Linked DNA regions of Homo sapiens: region 2 is linked to region 1. The links are contacts of gene promoters, found by promoter capture Hi-C in human tissues and cell types (Jung and others, 2019). All regions are on one chromosome and are shown on one strand. The core of a region is centred on a gene start or on the middle of the fragment in contact, and the rest is flanking DNA. Distances in the headings are between cores, read along the strand shown.

Region 1 (5,771 bases), core at 866-3,365:
CAAAAAAAAATAAAAAAAAAAATATATCAGCAAAACTAGAACTAGGAGAGCTTTGCTTTTTATTTTAAATCTGAATCAACTGAAAAATCAAATCTGCTTTTCACACCTTGGCTCTTCATGCCCAAGTAGCTGTCTGCTGTGGGGACTGTTCACCCTCCCCATGTCTGTTTCCTCCGTCACTGCTGCTGCACTGTAACAGCTAGGCCATCAGCAATATCAGGAGGTAGAGAGGCAGAAGGAGATTGTCTATCTGTGTAGTGTATGCTTCCAGGAGGGACACAGTGCTGATGGACCCCAAAATCCAAGCATAACTGTAGTTTAGGTCCACTCCACTGTCAAAGATTAAGATCAGAGCTACAGAAATGATCTGCGCAAATATAGATGTCATGGTCCCCTCAAAAGTCTTTTTGGTTCCAGGCCAGCGGATCTCCCCCATGGTGCTACCGAAGATGGAGGCCACAGTATCACCCACACCCACAGCCAGGACACCGGCATAGGGGACGAGGGCCCTGGCTCCTCCCAGGCTACCCTTCTGTGTGCAGGGTCTGGGGATCAGCCAGATGGGAAGAGACATGCCCAGGAGCAGGTAGATGTGTGTCAGAATGAGTGGTCCACTGTCTCGTTCATCCAGAAAAAGGGACAGGAAGCTCCGTAGAGTGTGACCCAAAGGCTTGATGCGGAAGTAGCGCACATACTCCAGGAAGATGAAGACCGCCAGGCATACAGTGGCGGCTACATAGAGCAGTGGCCGGTCAAAGATGATACCTGGGATGTAGGTGGCTACCACAATGAGGTGGAAATACTTTCGGGCGATGGTGGGGGCCTGGTGCTTCTTGGACTCGGAAGATGACCGCTTGGCATTCTGGTACAGCACCACCAGGCAGGCCAAGGTGGCCAGCAGAGACCAATAGGCTAGGAGGTAGATGCGGGTGTCTGTCTGGAAGAGAAACTGAAGAAGCCAGAGCAGGGGATTCCTGCGGATGAGCCGGTGCAGCCAGGGTAGGACCACACCAAGGCTCAGCACACAGGTCATGAGGTGGAAGAAGATGGAGGAGGCCCAGGTGCCTGAGTCCATGAAGACAAACAGAGTGCTGAAGAAAATGCCCATGAGTACCATCCCTACTACCACCACCAGCAGGAAGAAGTCCACTGGGTCCCCCTGACTTTCCACCAGTGTCAGAGAGCGCTTGATGAGCTGGTTGAGGACAAAGCTAATGCCACCCAATACCAGCAGTGCCTCACCAGGGGTGAAGCAGCGGGGCAGCAGGTACAGCAGGATCATGTTGAGATAAACGAAGATCAGAAGGACTTCCAGGACTTCGATCACCTCCCCCACGCTCAACGAGTGCTTCATGATATAAATGATAACACCTCCAGCCAAGCCCAAGATGACACAAGTGTTGGTTGGCACTGGGCGAGTGATGCCGAGCGCCAACACTGATGAGAAGAGGGCCACTGCCATGCCAGTGGCTGCCACCACAATGCCAAAACGCTCAAAGAACGGGTTCCCAGCAGTCTGGCACCGCTCCTTCATGACTAGTCCAAGCAAAGGCATGACCATGGAGGCGGGCAATAGGCCACTGTTTGCGGACATTCGGAACTGGAAGACGGCGCTTCCCTGCTGTAGCAGCCGGTCCCACTTGTATTGGACGTAGAAGGCCTGCACTGCGAGGGCCACGGCGCACCACGAGTATCGGTCCCATACGGTTGCGTGGATGCTCAGCACCACTGCAAACACTACTGCCGCCTCTGCCAGCACCGATCCACTCAGCGGAGCCCCAGGCCCCGGGGCCGGAGATGGGCACTCTCGGGTCATATCTCTAGACCTGGGGCTTCACGGAGGCCGGGGCGACTACGGACGCCCTAGACTTCGGGCCCCTCAGCCCCGTCAAGCAGAGGGAGGCACTTTCACCCGGCCAGCAACCTTCTCCCTCCGTTCTCCAGCAGCGAGGAGGGAACTCCACCGCAGGTCACTTCTGCGGCCTGGGAGCTGGCGCCCGGCCACCCCCCACAGCCTCCAACCTACGGCGTAGACGTCGCCACTCTGCAGCCTTCCTCACAGTTACAGCCGCCCCCGCTGCCGGCTCCTCACCTCTTTGGGCCTCGCCATCTTGGCACCGCCCCGCGGCAACGTCACGTGACGAAATCCCCGCCCACGCTCCGGGTCCGGGGGCGAGCGGTCACGTGGGCATGGCGTCTGGGGGCGGGGTTAGGGCGAGCGGGCGCGCGAAGATGGCGGCGGCCGCCGGCGGGCCGTGTGTGAGGTGCGGAGCGGGTCGAATGGACCGGGGTGGCTGTGAAGCGCGGTGTCAAAGCCGAGCGGAAGCGGGGCGGGAATTGGAGGCGGGATGTGGCGACAGTGGCAGGGCCAACCCCGGCTGGATGGACGGGCACCGAGACGGGAGGCGGTTACGTCCAAACGGTCCCCGCGCGCGGGGATCTGAAGAGTCTTCTTCAGGAGGGGGGCCGGCTCTTCACCCCTTCCCTCCGCGCTCGGCCTCCCATCTCCTCACCCAGGGCCCTTTGCCTTCCTCCTCTCTCACCTCCGACGCGTCTCTTGGCGCCCCACCCGCGCTTCCTTCTCCGGCCGTGACGCTCCCTCGAGCCACGGGGAGCTTTGCGGTCTCCTGGGGTACCCCCCACCCACGTCCCTGCTGCAGGCTCCCAGTGTCCTGCCCCGGCGTCGAGTGCGCCCTGCTGGCTCCCCGACCTCTCCCGCGATCTGTTCTTGTTAGGATTTTGTTTCGCGTTGAGCGGAGCCACGCTTGCGGCTTCTGTCCTCTCCGCGCCTCGTATCGTTCTTTTCTTGCACTGAATCAAGTCAGCCAGCATGTCCAAATCCTCCAAGAGATTTCAGGGATTGAACTAGGCTTTAGGGACAAGAAGATGAAATATTATATACGAAAACTACAATTCTGACAAAGTGCTTTCTAGCGTCAGACCCTGGTGGAGCGCTTCCCAGGAGTTATCTCATTCAATTCTCGCAACTCCGAGAGGCGCCTTCTATTTCACAGATGACTCAGAAGTCCGGCTCAGAGCTAGCCAAGTGATAAAGAGAGCCTTCAAGCTGAAGTCTGCGTACCTCCAGTGCTATAACCAGACCACCACGCCTCCTTCTGTCTTCCACATTGCAGCTCGAAGGTCTTCGTTCTTCCCACCACCCTCCCTCAAAGTTAAACATCCCCGTCTCTTATCCTTCCCTGTGCCAGCAGTGTTTTCCCCACTTTTTTTTTTTTTTTTTTTTTTTTTTTTTTTTGAGACGGAGTCTCGCTCTGTCGCCCAGGCTGGAGTGCAATGGCACGATCTCGGCTCACTGCAAGCTCTGTCTCCCGGGTTCATGCCATTCTCCTGCCTCAGCCTCCCAAGTAGCTGGGGATACAGGCACCCGCCACAACGCCTGGCTAATTTTTTGTATTTTCAGTAGAGACAGGGTTTCACTGTGTTAGCCAGGATGGTCTCGATCTTCTGACCTCATGATCCGCCCGCCTCGACCTCCCAAAGTGCTGGGATTACAGGCATGAGCCACCGTGCCCGGCCCTAACAATATTATTATATAACAAGATTACTTTCCAAAAATTTAACAAATCGTTTTGTATATTGAGATTTTTTGCTTTTAGAGAGCAGACAAAATGGCTATGAGGCAGTGTACAAGTTTGTATGATCAGAAAGAGCAAAATTACCTCTGTTCTCTCATTTTGCAGGAGCAGTAGAGAACTGTGGACTATTCTGCTTGGAAGGTCAGCTCTGAGAGAGCTGGTAAGTGGTGGTGTTCTTGAGTGGGTTCTCTGGGTTCTTTGTGTAGCTTTTGTTACCAAAAAAAACCTTTTTTTAAATGTAGGAAGTAAACACATTTATTTATTTAGAGACAGAGTTTCGCTCTTGTTTCCCAGGCTGGAGTGCAATGGCGTGATCTCGGCTCACCGCAACCTCCGCCTCCCAGGTTCAAGCGATTCTCCTGCCTCAGCTTCTCGAGTAGCTGGGATTACAGGCATGCACCACCACGCCCGACTAATTTTGTATTTTTAGTAGAGATGGGGTTTTTCCATTTTGGTCAGGCTGGTCTCCAACTCCCGACCTTAGGTGATCTGCCCTCCTTGGCCTCCCAAATTGCTGTGATTATAGGCGTGAGCCACCACACCTGGCCTATTTATTTATTTTGAGATGGAGTTTCACTCTTGTTACCCAGGCTGGAGTGTAACAGCATGATCCCAGCTCACTGCAACCTCCGCCTCCCGAGTTCAAGCGATTTTCCTGCCACAGCCTCCCGAGTAGCTGAGATTACAGGTGCATGCCACCACACCTGGCTAATTTTTGTATTTTTAGTGGAGACAGGGTTTCACCATGTTGGCCAGGCTGGTGTTGAACTCCTGACCTCAGGTGATCTACTTGCCTTGGCATCTCAAAGTCCTGGGATAACAGGCGTGACGGCCACTTTTTTTTTTTTTTTTTTTTTTTTTGAGGGGGGTGTCTTGCTCCCAGGCTGGAGTGTAAGTAGCTCGATCTTGGCTCACTTCAACCTCTGCCACCTGGGTTCAAGTGATTCTCCTGCCTCAGCCTCCCCAGTAGCTGGGATTAGAGGTGCCCACCACCACGCCCTGCTGATTTTTATATTTTTAGTAGAGACAGGGTTTTGCCATGTTGGCCAGGTCGGTCTTGAACTCCCGACCTCAGGTGATCTGCCTGCCTCAGCCTCCCAAAGTGCTGGGATTACAGGCATGAGCCACCACACCCGGCTACGTTTTTTTGTTGTTGTTGAGACAGAGTCTGGCTCTCGCCCAGGTTGGAGTGCAGTGGCACGATCTTGGCTCACTGCAACCTCTGTCTCCTGGGTTCAAGTGATTCCTGCCTTAGCCTCTCAAGGAGCTGGGGATTACAGATGCATGCCACCACGCCCGGCTAATTTTTGTATTTTTAGTAGAGATGGGGTTTCACCATGTTGGCCAGGCTGGTCTTGAATTCCTGGCCTCAGGTGATCTGCCCACCTCAGTCTCCCAAAGTGCTTGGATTGCAGGCATGAGCCACTGTGCCTGGTATAAACACTTTTTTTTTGTTCCTAAAACTTTATAAACGTGGTCAGATGCAGTGGCTCATGCCTGTAACCCCAGCACTTTGGAAGGCCAAGGCAGAAGGATCAATTGAGTGCACAAGCTCAAGGCCAACCCTGGCAAGATAGCAAGACCCCGTCTCTACAAAAAATTTTTTAAAAAATTAGCCAGGCATGGTGGTGCATGTCTGTAGTCCCAGCTACTTAGGAGTCCAAGGTGGGAGGATTGCTTGATCCTGGGAGGTTGAGGCTGCAGTGAACTCTAGCCTGGGAGACACATCGAGACCCCAGCTCAAAAAAGCAAAAAGCTTTATAAACATTACGCATTCCCTACTTCTTTGCTGAAATGAGACTACCTAGCCTAGCTGCTGAAGTCTTTTAAATCTACCTTTGTATTTCATTGATTCCTTTTATGAAAAGATACCTGTGTTCATTGCTTGGCTGCTGAGAGTAGGGGTGCAAATACCATTCTTCTACCTCAACCTAAGAAAGATTCTTGGCCAGGCATGGTGGCTCACGCCTGTAATCCCAGCACTTTGGGAGGCCGAGGCGGGCGGATCACCTGAGGTCAGGAGTTCGTGACCAGCCTCAACATGGAGAAACCCCGTCTCTACTAAAAATACAAAATTAGCCCGGTGTGGTGGTGCATGCCTGTAATCCCAGCTACTCGGGAGGCTGAGGCAGGAGATTCGCTTGAACCCGGAAGTGGAGGTTGCAGTGAGTCGAG
Region 2 (5,771 bases), core at 2,090-4,589, 250 kb before region 1:
GCTGGGATTACAGGCATGCGCCACCACCCCGGCTAATTTTGTATTTTTAGTAGAGACGGGCTTTGTCCATGTTGGTCAGGCTGGTCTTGAACTCCCGACCTTACGTGATCCGCCCGCCTCGGCCTCTCAAAGTGTTGGGATTACAGGCGAGCCGCCGCGCCCAGTGAGTTATAGTCTTTTAAAGGCCAACTGGCTAGAGAGTTGGTTTGCACTATTCACGGTCCACTAAATGCTGAACACGAATTTCCTAAGAATTCCAGTCTTATGAAGTGTTATCACTATCAGAAGTAAGGTGCAACTACCTGGTCAGACTCATCCAGCAGTCCAGGACTTGGCTTCCCTGTGTAAGGTGGTGAAAAACACTCCCCAGGTCGGGCGCGGCAGCCACACCTGTAATCCCAGCACTTTGGTAGGCTGAGGCAGGTGCATCACGTGAGGTCAGGAGTTCGAGACTGGCCTGGCCAACATGGTGAAACCCCATCTCTACTAAAAATATAAAAAATTAGCCAGGTGTGCCGAGCGCGGTGGCTCCCGCCTGTAATCCCAGCACTTTGAGAGGCCGAGGCGAGCAGATCACAAGGTCAGAAGATCGAGACCATCCTGGCTAACACAGTGAAACCCCGTCTCTACTAAAAATACAAAAATTAGCCGGGCGTGGTGGTGGGCGCCTGTAGTCCCAGCTACTCGGGAGGCTGAGGCAGGAGAATGGCGTGAACCCTGGAGGCGGAGCTTGCAGTGAGCCGAGATCAGCCACTACACTCTAGCCTGGGCGAAAGTGCGAGACTCCGTCTCAAAGAAAAAAAAAAAAAAAAAAAAATTAGCCAGGTGTGGTGGCATGTGCCTGTAGTCCCAGCTACTCAGGAGGCTGAGGCATGAGAATCACTTGGACCCGGGAGGTGGAGGTTGCAGTGAGCCAAAATTGAGCCACTGCACTCCAGCCTGGGTGACAGAGCAAGACTCTCTCAAAAAAACAAAAAACAAAGCCACTTTCCAACCAAACTTGGAAAACCATCGAATTCAGCTTCCTGCCTGCAGTGAGTGGATAAATGAGCCGGGAGTTGAGATGTGAGCACCCTCCTATGGAGAGTTATCTCAGATTACTCTTGGCTTCCAGAAGTAACATTTAGCCATCAAGGCAAATACACATTTTAAAGTGTTAATTAGCTGGCTGGACTGATTGCACCACTGGAGAATTCCTAAAAGGTGGGGAAGGCTTGTTAGTTTGATTCCTGGGTTTTTGATGAGCTGCAGTGAGAAGCTGAGGACTTTTTTACTTCTTTATTTTACTTTTTTAAGAGATGGTGTCTCACTATGTTGGCCAGGTTGGTCTTGAACTCTTAGGCCTCAAGCAATCCTCCTGCCTCATCAGCCTCCCAGAGTTCTAGGATTACAGGCATGAGCCACTGGGCTTGGTCAGCCTTTTTGCTTCTAAATGATGGATAATAACGTTCATTTAACCTCCATTTTATTTTATTTTTATTTATTTATTTTTCTTGAGACAGAATCTTGCTCTGTTGCCCAGGCTGGAGTGTAGTGGCGTGATCTTAGCTCGCTGCAACCTCTGCCTCCCAGATTCAGGTGATTTGCCTGCCTCAGCCTCCCGAGTAGCTGGGACTACAGGCGTGCGCTACCACGCCCAGCTAGTTTTTCTAATTTTTTATTTTATGTATTTTTTTGAGATGCAGTTTTGCTCTTGTCATCTAGGCTGGAGTGTAGTGGCGAGATTGGCTTACTGCAACCTCCACTTCCCAGGTTCAAGTGATTCTCCAGCCTCAGCCTCCCTAGTAGCTGGGATTACAGGCACCCACCACCATGCCCAGCTAATATTTTTTTTTTGTAGTTTTAGTAGAGACGGGGTTTCACCATGTTGGCCAGGCTGGTCTCGAACTCCTGACCTTGTGATCCGCCTGCCTCGGCCTCCCAAAGTGCTAGGATTACAGGCGTGAGCCACCGCGCCCAGCTGCCTTTTTAATTTTTTTTTAGCAGAGACGGGATTTCACCATGTTGGCCAGGCTGGTCTTGAACTCCTGACCTTAAGTGATCTGCCCTCCTCAGCCTCCCAAAGTGCTGGGATTACAGGCATGAGCCACCATGCCCAGCCAACCCCCATGTCAAAGAACCTACTATGTGCCAGGTGCTTCTGCTAATGTCTAGACCTCAACAACTCTAATGTGTAAATGTCACATTTCGCCTCTGATTATGAAATCTGGGCATGTTTCACAGAGCCAAGTTGCCTTTGCTTATATGTCAATGCCACTTGGGTGATTTCCCATAGCAGGACAACCCAGTGTTGTCCATGGCTCACCAATTTCACTTTTTTCCAGTCCATTATGAAGGAAGTGATTAGTGCAAAGCACAACATGTGGCTTCCTTCATTCAGTAAGAGCACCAGAGCCTGTCTGTTCCAAGTCACTGTCGGTATTTGACCCTTCATCACCTTCCCACCTCCTGGAGGACGCTCCTCCACGAAGTGCTGACACAACCTCCTGTAAACGCAGGATGCCAGGACGGGCTGAATGGCCCGCCATAGACTAGGCAGTGACCAGCACACCTCCCTTGGGCTGAAATAGTGGCGGCTATTTCACCAGGTGTAAATGGCTTTTCTCCCGTGTGGATGGATGGGCTTTTTAGGGTAAAGCCCTAAAAAGTGGCACGGGCTGAACCAGCAAGCTCAGTCTGAGTAAGAGATGGGCCGGAGAGAGGTCTGGTTCATTCATCTGTAATTTGTAATTTATCATAATTTTGGGTGAGGATTTACTTTTCCACAAGTATACGTTCTTTTTTTTTTTTTTTTTTTTTTTTTGAGATGGAGTCTCGCTCTGTCACCCAGGTTGGAGGGCAGTGGCAGGATCTCGGCTCACTGCAACCTCCGCCTACTGGGTACAAGTGATTCTCCCACCTCAGCCTCCTGAGTAGCTGGGATTACAGGCGCCCGCCACCACGACCGGCTAATTTTTGTATTTTTAGTAGAGACGGGGGTTTCACCATGTTGGCCAGGCTGGTCTCGAACTCCTGACCTCGTGATCCGTCCACCTCTGCCTCCCAAACTGCTGGGATTACAGGCGTGAGCCACCGCACCTGGCCTAGTATACATTCTTGTAGTGACTAATATCTAGTCTGGGCCAACCACTCCGAGGAGAGAGACAATTTTGGATTAGCCCACATTACACCAACAACGTGCGAGACAAAGAGAGACTTGAGGGGCTTGGTCGAGGAGGCCCAGCGCGTTAGAGGCGGGAGCCAGGTTGTAGAGGGGCTCAAAGTTAGAGGAGGCGGCCAGCTCCACCGGCTGCACCCGGCTGGGCGACCCGGCAACCTTCAGGGGGCGCTGTTTCCCCCATCCCTGTCCCTAACTGGCCGGCTCCCGCGGGCGCGCGGCGGGGAAGGCCAGAGGACCTGGGCGCGGGCGATGTGCCTCCTGAGCGTCCAAACCGGGGGTGAGGCGCGGTCACGCCCAGCGGGAACCGCAGGCGCCGAAGCCCGGGTACTGGGCCCAGAATCCCGCGGAATTTTGGATCCGAGGGAGGCGCTGGGGCGCGGGACCTCGGGCGTGGGGTCCCGGGCGCTGGATCGGCGCGGACGGGAGGCGGCGCTGGTCCCGCGGGCCAGCGGGTCTCGGGAGGGGGCGCCCGATCCCGCGTCTCCGGCGCCGCTTCCCGGGAAGTTTCAAGTTTGAAAGTCCTGGCGGAGGGTCTGCGGCTTCCGGGACCGGAGTGGCTGAGAGAAGGGCCCCAAGCGGCCGGAGCGGCGCCATGGAGGAGGGGGCGCCGCGGCAGGTGAACGGCGTGGGAGGGGCGCGCGGGCCCGGGGGGTGCGAGAAAGCCTCTGTCATCGCCCCGGAGCCCCGAACCGCGGCCGCTTCCCCCGATCCTCCCCTCACCCGCGCCCCTTCCCTGCCCCTGCCCTGGCCCCGGCCCCGCGACGCCCTCGCAGAGCAGACCTGATCTCCGGGTTCGGTGGTTCCTGGACCTTGCACAGTCTCCAAATCAGTCCGCGGCTGACCCGGAGACTGAACCCCAACCAGCCCGTGAGCGAGGACGGCTGAGTCCGCAGTGTGCGCCACCAGGGTGGTCCCCAGAGTGTCCTTAAGTCGGTTCTCCTCGGTGGGGCTCCAAGGCCGACGGGAATTAGCCGGGATAGAAAGGCGGGGCACAGGGGCCTGGGGGGGTTAGAATGTGCGCGCAGCGGGGGGCGCAGTCTGTGCGCGCTTGGCAGTGGCAGGAGTCCTTCCCGGAGCACAGGAGGCACGAGGGGAGCGTAGATGAGAGGGGAGCGGCCTCCCCCGCCCCAGGGCGGGAACCTTTGGGTACATAGCGGGTTCTAGAATGCGGAGGGGGCTGGGTTTCCTGCCAGAGCTGGCAGTAGGTGCGCGTGGGCCCGGAGGACCGAGGCCATGTCTATCTGCTCCTGAGGAGGGAGAGGTGGTGTCCTGTTCCGGAGCGAGTGGTTGGGAGGGGGGCATTTGCGGACAGGAGTGGGTCCCCGCAAAGAGCGGAAAGGAGGTGGTGTGTGTGTCCATGTTGGAGTTCCAACCCAGGGCAGACGGGACCATGGGGGTGTTGCGGGGTGCGTGTAGACTCCTTGAGCGCCCAAGCCAGTCGTTTAGGCCGCCTTCAGGGCTGGGGCTCGGTCTGCCCCCTCCCACCCCCTTCCTCTGGAGGTCCCTCCGCCTGTTCCAGACGTAGCTTGTACACATTTTCCGATTTCCTGCGGGGCTCCGCCCTGCAGCGGCAGCTGGGTGACTCAGGACCCCGGTGGCCGGGCCCCCAGCTCCATGGGACCTTTGTTTGCTCCGGTCTTTGGCTCTGGCCCTGTGGCCTAGGGCGGTCAGAGGATTTCCTGAGCCTCGCCCTTGCCCTCTGACAGCTGGGCCAGCAGGCCCCGCTGAGGTCTGGGGTGGGGGGGTCCCTGAGTCTGGGGTTGCGGCCCCTTCCACTGGGCTCAGGAGAAGATGGAACACAGAGAGGTAAGATGGGGTTCCTGCAACAGCCCGTGTTGCGGGGCATCATGGGTTACCCGGCCTGAGGTCACCTTTGGCACCGGTTGGTTTGAAATGCTGGCGGCTGGAAAGGAGGTGTTCCTGTTCCTGGCTCCAACCTGGGTGAAGCCGTGAGAGAGCCTTCTACTTCCTCCCGGGAGCTGAGCAGGGAGTGGGCACCCGGAGACCTCCCCAGTTCCTCTCTGTGCCTCTGCTTTGCTACCTGTGGCATTGGGACATCAGGGGAACAAGCCCTGGCTCCCAGGCCCCTGGCTGCCTTCTCATGTGGCTTCGTGTGAACCCCTATTCGGCGTAGCTTTTGTGGCTCCTGGACTCTACTTTGGGTCCCAGATGTAGAGAGAGCAGCCTGATTACCCAGGGCTGCCAGGGACAGCTGGGGCCCGAGAGATGGTGGCCCCTCCTCTGTGTCTTGACTGTGGGCAAGTTACTTCACCTCTCTGGGCCTCAGTTTCCTCACTAGAAAATAGGGGTAATAGTACAGGCGTGGTGGCTCACACCTGTAATCCCAGCACTTTGGGAGGCCAAGGCAGGTGGATCACCTGAGGTCAGGATTCAAGACCAGCCTGACGAACATGGAGAAACCCCGTCCCTACTAAAAATACAAAATTAGCCGGGCTTAGTGGCGTGTGCCTGTAATCCCAGCTACTCAGGAGGCTGGGGCAGGAGAATCGCTTGAACCCGGGAGGCAGAGGTTGTGGTGAACCGAGATCGTGCCATGGCACTCCAGCCTGGGCAACAAGAGCAAAACTGTCTCAAAAAAAAAAAAAAGAAA

The links. The method cuts DNA at HindIII sites, captures the fragments that hold promoters and counts their contacts. A contact is called where the count stands out against the background at its distance.
Region 2: a contact is called between the fragment with the promoter of PKN3 here and the fragment with the promoter of DOLK in region 1, in 1 of the 25 tissues and cell types used here (dorsolateral prefrontal cortex).

Annotation. Positions count from the first base shown.
Region 1 is chr9:128,945,488-128,951,258 of GRCh38, forward strand. DOLK (dolichol kinase) reads right to left here and starts at 2,116. Exons shown (of 1, transcript NM_014908.4): 1 at 43-2,116. The coding sequence starts at 1,816. The coding sequence ends at 200. NUP188 (nucleoporin 188) reads left to right here and starts at 2,212. Exons shown (of 44, transcript NM_015354.3): 1 at 2,212-2,264; 2 at 3,702-3,756. The coding sequence starts at 2,233. RefSeq lists enhancers at 876-1,438, 1,439-2,000, 1,862-1,931, 2,001-2,562, 2,282-2,331. The HindIII fragment of the contact is 11,289 bases long and covers 1-5,771 here.
Region 2 is chr9:128,699,164-128,704,934 of GRCh38, forward strand. It overlaps PKN3 (protein kinase N3), which reads left to right and starts at 3,340. Exons shown (of 22, transcript NM_013355.5): 1 at 3,340-3,776. The coding sequence starts at 3,753. RefSeq lists a silencer at 3,233-3,802 and an enhancer at 3,617-4,156. The HindIII fragment of the contact is 13,608 bases long and covers 1-5,771 here.